Linked DNA regions of Homo sapiens: region 1 is linked to region 2. The links are contacts of gene promoters, found by promoter capture Hi-C in blood cells and fetal thymus (Javierre and others, 2016). All regions are on one chromosome and are shown on one strand. The core of a region is centred on a gene start or on the middle of the fragment in contact, and the rest is flanking DNA. Distances in the headings are between cores, read along the strand shown.

What was found. The method cuts DNA at HindIII sites, captures the fragments that hold promoters and counts their contacts. A CHiCAGO score of 5 or more calls a contact.
Region 1: a fragment that was not itself captured here is called in contact with the fragment with the promoter of NDUFAB1 in region 2 in 1 of 17 cell types (erythroblasts); the score reaches 5.8 in erythroblasts.

The regions. Positions count from the first base shown.
Region 1 is chr16:23,479,278-23,483,185 of GRCh38, reverse strand. It overlaps GGA2 (golgi associated, gamma adaptin ear containing, ARF binding protein 2), which reads left to right. Exons shown (of 17, transcript NM_015044.4): 9 at 182-263; 10 at 2,416-2,541; 11 at 3,299-3,421. Among named protein-coding and RNA genes, the nearest start is that of COG7, 28 kb to the right of the region's middle. The HindIII fragment of the contact is 204 bases long and covers 2,353-2,556 here.
Region 2 is chr16:23,593,806-23,597,695 of GRCh38, reverse strand. It overlaps NDUFAB1 (NADH:ubiquinone oxidoreductase subunit AB1), which reads left to right and starts at 1,380. Exons shown (of 5, transcript NM_005003.3): 1 at 1,380-1,573. The coding sequence starts at 1,406. RefSeq lists silencers at 1,633-1,722, 3,468-3,644. The HindIII fragment of the contact is 11,223 bases long and covers 1-3,890 here.

The DNA of each region.
Region 1 (3,908 bases), core at 1,205-3,704, 120 kb after region 2:
TAGTCTTTTTCTGAAACTCTGTCATGTTACTTCAAAACTGCAGTCTCTAAGTCAGGACCATTGGGAGGCCTTCTGAAGCCCCAGACTCTGCCGTCTGCCTGATCGAAGGCTCCTGGGGCCCTGGAGGGGGGCGTTATGGGGTGCCTGGGCGTGTGTCATGAACCAAGCTCTGCTCTTTCAGGTCGTGTATGAGAGGTGTGAAAAGCTGCGGCCCACGCTGTTCCGGTTGGCGAGTGACACCACTGATGACGATGATGCACTCGGTAAGTTTTCTTTCCTTGGGTGTAGCTAGCAGCCCAGGTGCAAGACAGACTCGGTCCCTCCTGTCACACTGCTGTGCCAGGAACAAGACAGAGTGGACTTTCGGTTCCGTGGAGCTTGGGCTTGGGGAGGGTGTGGCCTGAGTTGCCTCAGAACTGACTTCCAGCAGGATCCAGGCTTCAGTAAGAAATCAGCAGCAGGTCTAAAGCCTGAAAAGAAGTGGAAATTGACCATGGAGATTGGGGTGTGAGAGGTAGAAGAAAGATCCCACTGGAGGCTTCAGGAAAAGCTGACCAATCGCAGGGGCCAGAGAAACAGCTGTGGGTGGTGTCTCAAGGGGATCACGGGCTTTTGTACCTTCAGGGGCCAGGTAGGTCAACTAAGAGGGCCAGGCCGATGGGAAATGGAAGGTACATCTGTAAGGAAGTGGAGAATTGTCCACAGTTACTAAAAAAGAATTTTAACTCTTTATTGTGGAAAATCTCGAAACATGAGAGAGGGGAATAGTAAAACCTATATATTCTTCACTCATCTTTAATAATTACCAGCTCATAGCTGATTTTTTTAATCTTACTTCATCTGTACCTCTCTTTGTACACACCCATTCCCTAGTCTGTTTTGAAGCAAATTCTAGACATTTCTTTTTCTTTTAATTATTTTGGAGATGGAGTCTCGCTCTGTCGTCCAGGTTAGAGTGCAGTTGTGCAGTCTTGGCTCACTGCAACCTCTACCTCCCTGGTTCAAGCCATTCTCCTTCCTCAGCCTCCCAAGTAGCTGGGATTATAGGCACCCACCATCACGCCTGGCTAATTTTGTATTTTTGTAAGATGACATTTCACCATTTTGGCCAGGCTGGTTTCAAACTTCTGGCCTCTAGTGATCCGTCTGCCTCGGCTTCCCAAAGTGCTGGGATTACAGGCGTGAGCCACGATCCCCGGCCTCTGGACATTTCAGAATAATCAAAGATTCAGTCAGTGTTCAGATTGCCCTGATAAAATTTCTCCTTAATCATCTCTTGCTAACTTAAAAAAAAAAAATTGTTCTAAATCAGACATAAAAGAAAAGCCATATAATTGGTTTATATTTCTTCTGTCTCTCTTAGTGGATAGCATGTGCATGCCCTCTGCAATCCTTTTTCCTTTTTTTTGAGACAGTCTCACTCTGTTGCTCAGGCTGGAGTCCAGTGGCGTGCTCAGCTCACTGTAGCCTCTACAGCCTTTACATCCTGTGTTCAAGCGATTCTCATGCCTCAGCCTCCTGAGTAGCTGGGACTACAGTTGCGCACCACCACACCTGGCTAATTTTTGTACTTTTAGTAGAGATGGAGTTTTGCCATGTTGGCCAGGCTGGTCTCAAACTCCTGGGCTCAAGTGATTTGCCCGCCTTGGCTTCCCAAAGTGCTGGGATTACAGGCGTGAACCACCACACACAGCCTTTTTTCCTTGCATGAAAATAGGCCCTCTGAATTGACAGTTCTCTCGGTCTCAGTTTTGCTCGTGGCATCCCCCATGATGCTGCTCATGTTCTGTTTCTGATATTTCTTTTTTTCTTGAGATGGAGTTTCGCTCTTGCTGCCCCGGCTGGAGTGCAATGGTGCGATCTCAGCTCGCTGCAACCTCCGTCTCCTGGGTTTAAGCAATTCTCCCACCTCAGCCTCCCGAATAGCTGGGATTACAGGCACCTGCCACGGCTGATTTTTTGTATTTTTAGTAGAAACTGGGTTTCACCATTTTGACCAGGATAGTCTCGAACTCCTGACCTCAGGTGATCCACCCGCCTCGGCCTCCCAAAATGCTGGGATTATAGGCATGAGCCACTGCACAGAGCCAGCAGCTTCAGATTCTGAGTTAAAGTTAAAAGTTTGTTATTGAAAGGGCCTTAATTTGAGTGCTTACTGCTGGCCATTACTCTGGACAGTACAGGTGTAGAAGGTGAACAGATTTGCTTCCTTCTGCATTGAGAACTACTAACATGTTAGGACTCAGGTTAACTGACTAGGCCTGATAGGGTCCGATGACACAACCTGGAGGCAGGAGGTGTGGATAAACTGAACATAGTCTAGCCATATGAAGGCTGTTTTATGGAAAAGCTTAGAAAAGACTGAGATTGTTGGTTGCCAAACCAGGGGGTTCTGAGTCTTCCCTCATTCTTCAGCGGAAATTCTCCAGGCAAATGACCTCCTCACCCAAGGAGTTCTGCTGTACAAACAGGTGATGGAGGGCCGGGTCACCTTTGGAAACAGAGTGACCAGCTCATTGGGAGACATCCCTGTCTCCAGAGGTATGTTTGAAAGCTTCTCCTTGCCTTCTCTGCCTTGGGGCAGCCTGTAATTCCCAGAAAAGAAATGGGTCCTAAACATATTCTGGGTTAAGGAATAGAAATGAGAGAACTCGCCCTTTGTTCCCCTTCCTGTGAAAGTGGATATGTTGCCACACCCAGCCATAGGAATTGTCATGAGCTGGTTGCCGGGCTGGACCCCAGCTTTGACTACACACAAAAGCAGATGGCTAAGCTGTGCCTGCGTTTGAATTCTCATAAATGCTTGCATACAGGAGCTAGAGACAAAAGAAATGATCTTCCTTAGTGGTTCCTAGTGCCAGGTCAGCTGTATCAGAATCACCTGGAGCACTGGTTGAAATGCGGTCCCTGGCTTGGACCTTCTGAATCAAGACTGCTTGGAGCTGGGCCTGGAGGTGTGCGTCTTTCAAGCACTGTGGGTGATTCTAATCAGCTGTGGTCAGAAGCCTCAGAATGGCCTGAGCTGGAGAAGGCCGAATCTGCTTTCCTCCAGAGTGATGGGATCTTTGCAGGAGGGCCTATGATCCCTGGGGTAGGAAGGCAGGCCTTGGCTCCCTCTTGTCTTGGATGCCAGCTGAGCTTGTGTGTCAGGACACTCAGCTGAGTGGAAGGTTCTTGGAAGGGCAGGGAGGGCGTTACCATTTGATTAGGAGGTGGTCTGAGGGAAGCTGATAGGATTTATGTGGAGACTTTGCTCTCATGTCCAACTGACTTCTCTTCCTAACCCTGGGCTTTCTAGTCTTTCAGAATCCAGCAGGCTGCATGAAGACCTGCCCCCTGATTGACTTGGAGGTGGACAATGGACCTGCGCAGATGGGGACTGTGGTGCCATCTTTGCTTCATCAGGACCTGGCAGCCTTGGGTGAGGGCAGGTGCTTGTGGGGAGCAGGCACAGGATGGGTGCGAGTAGGGGAGTGAGCTGGTTCCCTTCGCGGAGCACATGCCTGCTGCTGAGGGAGTCGAGATGGTTGTGAATAGGAAGAGTGAGCTGGTTCCCTCTGGGAGCACGTGCTTGCTGCTGAGGGAGTCAGGATGGGTGTGAGTAGGGGAGTGAGCTGGTCCCCTTGGGAAGCACGTGTCTGCTGCTGAGCAAGTCAGGGAGAGTGTGAGTAGGGGAGTGAGCTGGACCCTCGGAGAACACGTGTCTGCTGCTGAGGGAGCACATACCTGCTGCTGAGGGAATCAGGGTGGTTGTGAGTAGGAGAGTGAGCTGGACCCTCAGGGAGCACATGCCTGCTGCTGAGGGAATCGGGATGGGTGTGAGTAGGGGAGTGAGCTGGTTCCCTCTGGGAGCAAGTGCCTGCTGCTGAGAGAATCAGCAGGGTTCTGAGTAGGGGAGTGAGCTGGTC
Region 2 (3,890 bases), core at 131-2,630:
CACCGCGCCTGGCAGCATACCATTACATTTTATTTTACTTGGATTTAACAAAAATAAAAAGAAATTGAGGTAAAACTGGTGACATTATTGGATCATTCATTCAGGCAGATTTCAGAATTTGGAGTCATTATCCCGTGTGTTTCCATTTCAGTCAATATCCTTTAGCTCCCTGCTTAGAAATAGGAATTAGCCTTCTTAAACTCCTCCCTCGCTTACCTATTTTTGTTAGCTATTGTAAGGAACATGGCTGTGCTTTGGTCAAGGATAGGCCAAGGTAAGATGTTTACATCCTGCGTGACTCAGCAAGTTTAGACAGAGGCGTATAACTCCACTTGTTATCACAGCCATGTAGGCATAACATGGGAAGGTCATCACTTGGCTCTAAGCCACTATTTTCTGTAAAAGGTATAATTGCCCTGCTGATACTGTACAGGCGTTCGTGCCCAGAGAAAGAGAGAGCCAGAGCTGTCAGTCTTTGCAGACAGACAGGGGGAGCCAGATCACAGCTGAGAGAGAGTTAAGCTGCTGACCCTGAAGGCAAGGGAGAGCCAGCCTCGCAGTTGTGTGGGGGAGCCATGGGACTAAGCAGCTGAGACAAGGCAGACAGTGTGAGAGAACTAGTGTAAGTAAGCTGCTGATGAGAGCTGCTGCTGAATAAAATCATCTTTCACCTGCCTACCGTCCCCTGAGTGTTCTTTCAGCTATCTGTTCATCCACCCACTCCCCTCAGACCTCGATATGGGCTGGAACCTGGCTGTGGGCATGACAGTTGGCATAGTCGTGGACCTGACAGCTATATTATACACTGTCAAGTTTTAAAACATGTATATTGTTTTAATCGTAATTCTCACATTTATTAGTCTTAGGTATTGAAATTGATTATTTTTTCACATTATTATATATATTTTTTTACCTATTCAATAAATGTTAATACTTGTGGAAGAATTGTGGAATCAAAACTTTGTCCTTTTTTTCTTTTAATCTTTTTTGTAATAGAGACGGAGTCTTGCCGTGTTGGCCAGGTTGGTCTTGAACTCCTGAGCTCAAACAGTCCTGCCACCTTGGCCTCCCAAAGTGCTAGGATTAAAGGCGTCAGCCACCGCACCCGGCCCCAAACGTTTAAACAGATGTATTTCAGAACTTTCAGATAAAAAATGAAAGTAGGTTTCTCGTGCCGTGTCGTTTAGGGAAAGACGGCGACGTCTGCACAGTTTAGTTGTGACACCAAGCAGTTGTTCGTCCCCGAACCTGGATGGGCTCCGAGGGCGCAGTGCCTCCAGGAGCCGCCAGGGGCCGCCACCGCCGGCGGTGCCCGACAGCGCTGCCGTGTGCGTCGCCTGCGCGCCGCCGGAAAGGAACCCTGGTCCGGAGGCGGCGGCGCAGTGCATCCTGGGTTGGCGTAGCCATGGCGTCTCGTGTCCTTTCAGCCTATGTCAGCCGCCTGCCCGCGGCCTTTGCGCCGCTGCCCCGGGTCCGGATGCTGGCCGTGGCCCGGCCTCTCAGCACCGCTCTCTGCTCCGCGGGGACCCAGACGAGGCTCGGGACTTTGCAGCCGGCCTTAGTGCTCGCGCAGGTGACTCGTGGTGACTTTGCTGCCGCTTGGCAAGGGTCAGGGATTGGGCCCGGTGGGGGTGGGGGCCGGGCATCCGGGGCGCGCCAGCTGCAGGCAGGGGTGACCCGGGGGGCAGCCGGCTCGCTCCGCAGCCCCGCTGCCTAAAGGTGTTTAGTTGACCCCTGACGGGAGGCCGGGTGACCTCGTAATAACGAGCAAGAGCACTGACTCGAGTCCAGCACTGCTGGGCTGCCGCTTACCGAAACTTTGGACAAGTCTCCTAGCCTGGCTCACACTCACCTGCAAAATTGGGATCCTGGTCTCTACCTTGCGGAGTAGCAATGAGGATTAGATGAGTTAATGCGGCTAGAGCACCTCGTACGGTCTCAAAATAGCGGTCACCGTATTGTAGTGAAAGCAGCATGCAAAGAGGCAGCCACACTGGCCTACAGCCTTCTCCAGAGCGGTTTTCTCTCTGCAGTTCTGTCCTTACTCTTCCCTGCAGCACCTTCTGCCTGTGTCCAGGACTCCTGGAAGTAATTCTAGGAAACAAGCCAAGTGACCTTTGACCAATAAGGATTTGAATTGCGCGGGTCCACTTATATGCGGATTTTTTTTCAACCAAACGCGACCAGTATTTACGGGATGTGCCGCCCCGCGTATAAGGAGGGCAGGCTCTTCCTATAAGCGGATTCTGCAAGGCTGACTGCGGGACGTGAGTGTGCGGGGATTTGGGTATAGTCGGGGGTCCTGGAACCAATCTGCGCAAATACCAAGGAACGACTGTACCTGTAGTATATAGCTTGAGCTGATGAAATCTGCGTGAGGCTGAAACGCCGGGAGGCAGTGATTTCGGTGTTGTTGTTGTTGTTTTTGAGACAGAGTCTCGCTCTGTCACCCAGGCTGTAATGCAGTGGCGTGATCTCAGCTCACTGCAACCTCCGGCTAACGGCAACCTCCGCCTCTCAGGTTCAAGCAATTCTCCTCCCTCAGCCCCCCCGAGTATTTGGGACTACAGGCGCCCGCCACCATGCCCGGCTAAGTTTTGTATTTTTAGTGGAGACGGGGTTTCATCATATTGGCCAGGTTGGTCTTGAACTCCCGACCTCGCAATCCACCCGCCTCGGCCTCCCAAAGTGCTGGGATTACAGGCGTGAACCACCGCGCCCTGCCTTTTTTTTGTTGTTTTCTAAGTTCTCCAGATGACTCTGAAGTGCAGTTGGGAATAAAAATAACCGTCTTAAGGTAGGATAGACTCCCAAGGTCAAGTTATGAAACCCCTTTTCAAAGTCATAGACTTCAGGTAATAGTGGTTTCAACCTTGACTGCATGTTAGTGTGAAAAATAAGTGTGTCTGGCCAGGCGTGGTGGCTCACGCCTGTAATCCCAGCACTTTGGGAGGCCGAGGCGGGCGAATCGCTTGAGCCCAGGAGTTTGAGACCCTCCTAGGCAACATGGTGGAACCCCGTCTCTACAAAAAATACAGAAATTAGGCCGGGCGCGGTGGCTTATGCCTGTAATCCCAGCACTTTGGGATGCCGAGGCGGGCGGATCACGAGGTCAGGCGATCGAGACCATTCTGGCTAACACAGTGAAACCCCGTCTCTACTAAACATACAAAAAATTATCCGGGCGTGGTGGCACGCGCCTGTAGTCCCAGCTACTCAGGAGGCTGAGGTGGGAGGATCGATTGAACCCAGGAGGCAGAGGTTTTAGGGAGCTGAGATGATGCCACTGCACTCCAGTCTGGGAGGCAGACCGTCTTAAATAAGCCAGCCAGCCCGTGCCAGATCGACAGAATCTAGAAGTGAGTACTAGGCGACTATTTTTAGAAGTCATCAAGTGTTTCTTTTGTGAAGCCAGTGTTGCTGTTCACTGACAGTGTAATGGATTCATTCATTGGGCACTGCCCTGTTGGCTGTATCAAAAGGTGAAAAGTGTCACCTTGAAATTAAGGGTTAAAGGCCAGGCGCGATGGCTCACGCCTGTAATCCCAGCAGTTTGGGAGGCCGAGACGGGCGGATCACGAGGTCAGGAGATGGAGACCATCCTGGCTAACACGGTGAAACCCCGTCTCTACTAAAAATACAAAATAATTAGCCGGGCGTGGTGGCGGGCGCCTGTAGTCCCAGCTACTCGGGAGGCTGAGGCAGGAGAATGGCATGAACCCGGGAGGCAGAGCTTTCAGTGAGCCGAGATCGTGCCACTGCACTCCAGCCTGGGCGACAGAGCCAGACTCCATCTCAATAAATAAATAAATAAATAAATAAATAAATAAATAAATAAATAAATAAGGGTTAAAAAGGCAGTAGTTAGAATTGATGAGTGTCTGGTTCCT